2 separate regions of the Homo sapiens genome follow, and region 1 is linked to region 2. The links are contacts of gene promoters, found by promoter capture Hi-C in blood cells and fetal thymus (Javierre and others, 2016). All regions are on one chromosome and are shown on one strand. The core of a region is centred on a gene start or on the middle of the fragment in contact, and the rest is flanking DNA. Distances in the headings are between cores, read along the strand shown.

Region 1 (3,128 bases), core at 1-2,500, 120 kb before region 2:
TGTGTACAGTACTGAATTCTGAAATGAAAACAGTAGTTGAATTTGACTTCTCAGAAAAAAATGATATTAATTTTAAAGGTAAAATCTCTTACAATACAACCCCATTCCCACATTCACTGTTCACCACACAAAACTTCAACCAGAGTCTGTCTATTCATCTATTCATTTAACAGCTATGTATTGAGCTCTTAATATATGCCTACCCCATTCTAGGGATTAGCGAACAGAACCAAAAGATCCCAGCCCTCATACAGTTTACATTCTAGTAGGGGGTGGGGCTGAGAAAATAAAAAGCGAACATAATCATATAGTATGTTTTAAGATAATTAAGCATAAGAGAAAAAGAAAAAGACAGGCTAAGAGGGACAGCATATGTGGTAAGAGAGAGCCTAGAAGGCGGGCATATTAATAGGATGATCAGAACAGGCCGGGCTCATAATTTAGTGTGACTTGAGCACAGGCTTGAAGCGGAAGAGGGACTTAGTCAAGCAGATACCCAGAGGAAGCGCACTGCAGGCAAAGGGAACAGATGGAGCCCAGGCCCTCAGACTGGAGCTCGCCTGGCATCCTTGAGGAACAGAAGGGAGGCTAGTGTGGCTGGAGTAAATGGGGAGGAGAGGAAATCAGAGAGGTAACGGAGCCAGATAACACAGGGCCTTGATTACCACTGCAAGGATACGGCTGTCACTAAATCACGAGGGGTCCCTTTTTCCAATGAGGGTCCCTTTTTCCAGGATCGGGAAGGTGGATGGGATATGCCTTATGCTTTACAGGATCACTTTCACACTGCGTTAAGAATAGAATACGGAGAGGAGAATGGCATGAACCCGGGAGGCGGAGCTTGCAGTGAGCCGAGATCGCGCCACTGCACTCCAGCCTGGGCAACAGAGCGAGACTCCGTCTCAAAAAAAAAAAAAAAAAAAAAAAAAAAAAAAAAAAAAAAAAAAAAAAAGAATAGAATACGGAGGGGAAGGAGTAAAAGCTGGAGACCAATTAGGAGGCTATTGTAATAATCCAGGCCGAGAAGATGGCAGAGCAGGGCTCCTCAACCTCCAGGCCATGGACTGGTACCAGTCCATGGTCTGTTAGGAACTGGACCACACAGCAGGAGGTGAGCAGCAGGCTGCAAGCAAGCAAAGCTTCATCTGTATTTACAGCCACTCCCCATCGGTTGTATTACATCCTGACCTCTGCCTCCTGTCAGATCAGCAGGGGCATTAGATTCTCACAGGAGCACGAATCCTGTTGTGAACTGTACACGTGAGTGATCTAGGCTGCACACTCGTTATAAGAATCTAATGTCTGATGATCTGTCACTGTCTCCCATCATCCCCAGATGGGACCGTCTGGTTTCAGGAAAACAAGCTTAGGGCTCCTACTGATTCTATATTATGGTAAGTTGTATAATTGTTTTATTATATATTATAATGTAATAATAATAGAAATAAAGTGCACAATAAGTGTAATACGCTTGAATCATCCCAAAATCACCCCCACCCCCCCTGGCGTCTGTCTCCCATAAGATCAGTCCCTGGTGCCAAAAAGGTTGGGGACCACTGTGGTAGAGGGTTGTGGAGGTAGAGGTATAGAGAGAGAGCAGATTCTGGATATAATTTGAAGTTAATGGGACTTCCTGAAAAAACATGTGAGAGAAACCCCAAAGTGTTTGGCCTGAACAACTGGAATAATCATTGTTCAGACCATGAAGGTGTCATGAACTAACATGGAGAAGTCTACAGAAGAGGTTAGGGACACTCGTGGGGAGGAAGATCAGGAGTTCACTTAGGTTGGGATGGTGATAAGTAGGCAACTGGATACCTGAGTCTGGAGTTTGGAAGGTAGGTTGAAGTGGAAATATAAATGTGGAAGGTGTCAATACACAGATGATACTTAAAGCCAGAGGACACTGGAGAAGGCCAGCAAAGGAGTGAATGTAGGCAGAAAAGAGGCGAACCAAGGCTGCCTCTGATGGTATTCCCACAGGAAGAACTTATGATTACAATGAGCAATACGAACAGTAAATAAGTAATCTTTGTATTCTTCCTTTGTAACCTTTCTTAAAGGATATGTAGTAATAATATCTATTTTTAAACTGCTATCCATTATTCAAGAGTCTGAATTGACTACCAATAAATTATTTAAATATAGTTAAACTATTTTCAAAGTTTTGAGAAACCTAAAACAAAAATAAATTTTCTTCTTATATTTATTCCATAACAGTCGAAATTCAGAGACACATTTTAGGAATCAAGTTAGTTTTTTTGTTTTTTGTTTTTTTTGTTTTTTTGTTTTTTGTTTTTTTGAGACAGGGTCTTGCTCTGTCGCCCAGGCTGCAGGCTGGAATGCAGTAGTGCATTCTCAGCTCACAGCAACCTCTCCACCTACCAGGCTCAAGTGATCCTCCCATCTCAGCCTCTTCATAGAACCACAGGCGCGTGCCACCAAGCCCAGCTAATTTTTGTACTTTTTGTAGAGATGGGTTTCACTGTGTTGCCAAAGCTGGTCTCGGAACTCCAAGCAACCTGCCTGCCTCGGCCTCCCAAAGTGCTGAGATTACAGACATGAGCCACCACACCTGGCTAATTTTTAAATGAAAGGAAAAATGTATAACACAAAATACTAATTCTTACCTGCAAGGATTAGTAGTAAAAACTGAAAATGGTACCCTTTGTCTGAATTCATTAGTGATGCTTTCAGCAAGTGGTGGCCTATAAAAACAATTTATGTGATATAGTTTATCTTTTTAAGTTTTACAAAATTTTCTACACTGTTGCAAAAATCTGAACAAAACTTACCTTGGTAAGATGGAACCAAATCCAGGATCCTCTGGACCAGGTACAAACACAAAACGACTACTGTAGCAAAATTCAACACAATTCATTTAAAAATATTATTGTAACACTATCCAATAGCTTAAAAGCAAGTTATTCCCTTTGTTTTCTCTTTAAAATTAAAAAACATTTAAATTTCATGCATTATAATAAATGAACTATTAAGTCTCCAGACCAACACTGTCTAGTAATGTCATGATAGAAAAGTTCTATATCTGCACTGCCCAATTGAACACTTGAATTGTGGCTAGCATAGCTGATGGACTGAATTTTATATTTAAATTTAATTAAACTTAG
Region 2 (3,562 bases), core at 123-2,622:
CATTTTGGCCAGGCTGGTCTCGAACTCCTGGCCTCAGGTGATCCGCCTGCCTCGGCCTTCCAAAGTGTTGGGATTACAGGCGTGAGCCACCGCGCCCAGCCGAGATATTAATTTTGGATTCTACTAAGGACGACGGGAGCCAGCTCAAGGTTTTTAAGTGACTCGATCAGATTCACGAGGTTGGTTCACAAGGAACTTCGATAACCCCAAAGTCTAGTGAGCATAATTCGACTGGGAGAAGACACTGCTGCAAGGAATTCTGTGAACCAGACAGATTTGAGGGCACCAACCAGGGTGGATGGCAGATAAGGTCTTAACAGCCTCAAGGTGATTTGCTTCCTTGTTGAAGGCTTTAATTAATCCTCTTAAGTAACTTTCAAGTTCTTGAGTTCAAGTAAACACACTGGCACACTAGGGGAGGAGTGGCAGGCTATAAGCATTTTAATAATTAAAAAAAAAAAGCCTTTTATTGTTCAAAGTGTTCCTTTTCTATGGAGTGCTCCCAACCAGAAGATGAGGGAAATGGAGATAATGAAGCACGTCCCTCCTACCAAACACGATAAATTCTACAGGCACTGTAAGATCAAGAATTTAAGATTATTTTTGTCCCACCCTATTTTACAGGTGAGGTATCAAGCACAGTAACTCGTAATTTTCTTTTGGCCCAATTGAAAGGTATCATATAAGAGAAAGCTGTGTGTGCGTGAAAAGGATCCGCCTTTCTTTCTGAAGAAAAGGGTGGTTACGGCTTCGGAAACGCTTTTCAAGCCAACTCTGCAGCCCGGCTGGCGGCGGCAGCGGCGGCGGCGGCAACGTCAGATTCCCGCAGAGGCGGCGCCCGGCAGGGGCGGCAGGAGCTCAGGAGAGGCCCCCGGGGATCGGGCTGGGCCCCACGTGAGAGCTAAGCGACTGCCCTCGCGCCCGCAGAACAGCAGGGCCTGCATCGACTCTAAGGCGAGACCAGAAACTTGCTAGTGGAGCAATTCTGGTGCCCCTGCCCGGGCTGTGAACCCTCTGAGATCATCCCTCAATCAAACGAATAGAAATCCTCGGGAAGAAAAAAAAAATTGCGGCAATCCGGCTAAAATTCAGCAGCTTTCAGGGACCGATTCAGGACATTATCCCTGTGGTTCCCTCAGTGAAAGGAGACTCGAAGCGCGACTAGAAGTCGCCGGGCCCCATAGATCTGCGGTGCCCAGGCCGTAGGCGGAGGCGCGGGCAGAGGCGGCGGCGGCGGCGGCGGCGGCTGGAGGACCCGGCGCTGGGGGCGCTGAGCGGCAGCCTCGCTTCCGGAGCTCGGCGGGCGGCGTCAGCGGAACGGGCGGCTTCCGGCCGCGGCGTAAACAAGGCCGTGGACTGCAGGAGGCGGGGCAGACGGGCTGCAATAGGGAGCCGGCCCGACGCGGACCGCTTCCCTGCAGTGCCCCGAGTCCCGGGCCCGCGCCGCCGCCGCCCGGCTCCGCTCGCGGCCCCTCTGTCTGCAGGCGTGCCCCGGCGGCGGCGGAGAGCCGTCCTCGGCCGAGGAGGCTGGGAAACGCGAGCGCAGGCGGCAGAGAGGCCTCAACGCCGTCCCTTTCGCCACCGCCTTTTCCTTGCCTCGCGCCGCTGTGCATTTCTCTCCTTTTCCTTTGTTTTTTTGGCCCCTCGCGGGTGTGGGCATTGTTGGTTAGCAAAAGTGCAGCCTCAAGATGGCTGATGGCAACGAGGATCTGCGGGCTGACGACTTGCCTGGGCCAGCCTTCGAGAGCTATGAGTCCATGGAGCTTGCCTGCCCCGCTGAGCGCAGCGGCCACGTAGCCGTCAGCGACGGGCGCCACATGTTCGTCTGGGGCGGCTACAAGGTCAGTGAGTGGCCGGGCCGCGACGGACGTCGCTCGGCTGTGACTCGGGTCTGCGTTCGCGGCCAGGCGGGGAGGCCAGAGCGGGCCGCCGAGGGCGCTCCCCGCCTGCGTCGCGCGCCCCACCTCAGACTCTGCCCGTTGGTTGTTTTTTTTTTGCGCGCGGGAATCTTCCTTCTCTCGAGTACCCCAACCCGTCTCGAACCTCCAGGGCTGCTGTCATGTCACCCTGGTGCTCACAAAGCCAACTCACTCCCACCCCCGTTGTTGCCATTGGAGCGTTATTCCGGGGAAGGCCCTGTTAATGTTGCTTGGGCGGTGCATTCGGAAGGGTTGGGGTGTGAAAGGTGACGGTGTGTGATATCACTCAGACGCGTTATGAGGACGGCCTACGAGGACTTCACCCTCTGGAGCTGGGAACCGCTGCCCACTTACAGGGAGGCCGAGGTGTAGGAAAACTGGAATTCCAAAAGGTTACAGGAACCACCTTATTCAGCCTTCCCGCCTGTGCAAATGGCCATCAGGACTGTTTTCCTTCTGGCTTCAGCTGGGTTGAAGTTTTTCAGCAGACACCCCTATTAAGATAATGGAAAAGCTCCACCAGTAACCAAAAAATCCCCAGCATCAAATGAACTACAGAGTGCAGCTCTTTGACTCTCCGATCCCCTGGTTATAAACAACGTGATTAGTTAGCAGTTTAAAGCCAGTTGCCATTCTTTACCCTGCTAACCTCGGAAATCTAGAATTTTATTTGCTAGGATGGCTCTGAGCCAGTCCTACCACAAAATTCCTCTTTGGTCTTGAAAATGTTCTCCGCCCTCCCCACGCCCGTGCCTTGGATGACTTGCTTTGTGATTGTTTTTAGCTTATGGTACAGCTGACTTGATCATAGTTGACCATTTTTGAGATAGCTTTCAAAGATGGCTGTCCTGATACTTTATTTTGGTTTAACTGCAAAAGTAATTTTTTGCCAATCCTAATGAATCTGCAGTGTTTTCCCCAGTTTCCAATGAATGTGGTTAGAAAATAGAAAGGGGGCCGGGCGCGGTGGCTCACGCCTGTAATCCTAGCACTTTGGGAGGCCAAGGTAGGTGGATCAGCTGAAGTCAGGAGCTCGAGACCAGCCTGGCCAACATAGTGAAACTCCGTCTCTACTAAAAATACAAAAAAAAAAATTAGCCTGGCGTGGTGACGGGCGCCCTAATCCCGTCTACTTGAGAGGCTAAGGCAGGAGAATCACTTGAACCAGGGAGGCGGAGTTTGCAGTGAGCTGAGACGGCGCCATTGCACTCCAGCCTGGGCAACAAGAAGGAAACTGTCTCAAAAATACTTTAGAAAGGGGTAGAGAATTGCAAGAAGGGGGGCGGGGGGGCAAGCATGTAGTCACCCTTATAAAAATGTAAATTAATTCCCCTGGAGAAACCTGTCAATGACACTTCTAAGCTACCTAATTCATAATTGTATTTTTAAAATGACAGCATGAGAGAATAAGACTTTGGGAGTGGGGCAGGGGAGGATTCTTAGTGTGGAATATTTCTTGTGGATTTAAAAGGGCCTGGATGATTGGGGCCGATTCAGGGAGGAGCAGCACAATCACTGAATTGGATGGTTCTGAAACAGACTGCCCTCCCCATTTATGGCTGGTGGCTGGAACCCTGAGGGTAGGCACAGAAGTCCTTGGAGATTGTTTCAAAGGCAATAAACCTTGGCTTCCTACATAGTAG

Evidence for each region. The method cuts DNA at HindIII sites, captures the fragments that hold promoters and counts their contacts. A CHiCAGO score of 5 or more calls a contact.
Region 1: a contact is called between a fragment that was not itself captured here and the fragment with the promoter of KLHDC2 in region 2, in 1 of 17 cell types (megakaryocytes). The highest score is 5.4, in megakaryocytes.

Annotation. Positions count from the first base shown.
Region 1 is chr14:49,651,360-49,654,487 of GRCh38, forward strand. It overlaps POLE2 (DNA polymerase epsilon 2, accessory subunit), which reads right to left. Exons shown (of 19, transcript NM_002692.4): 14 at 2,796-2,855; 15 at 2,631-2,708; 16 at 1-18. Among named protein-coding and RNA genes, the nearest start is that of DNAAF2, 18 kb to the left of the region's middle. The HindIII fragment of the contact is 226 bases long and covers 1,138-1,363 here.
Region 2 is chr14:49,766,781-49,770,342 of GRCh38, forward strand. It overlaps KLHDC2 (kelch domain containing 2), which reads left to right and starts at 1,373. Exons shown (of 13, transcript NM_014315.3): 1 at 1,373-1,841. The coding sequence starts at 1,689. RefSeq lists silencers at 773-832, 1,173-1,252, 1,423-1,602. The HindIII fragment of the contact is 13,494 bases long and covers 1-3,562 here.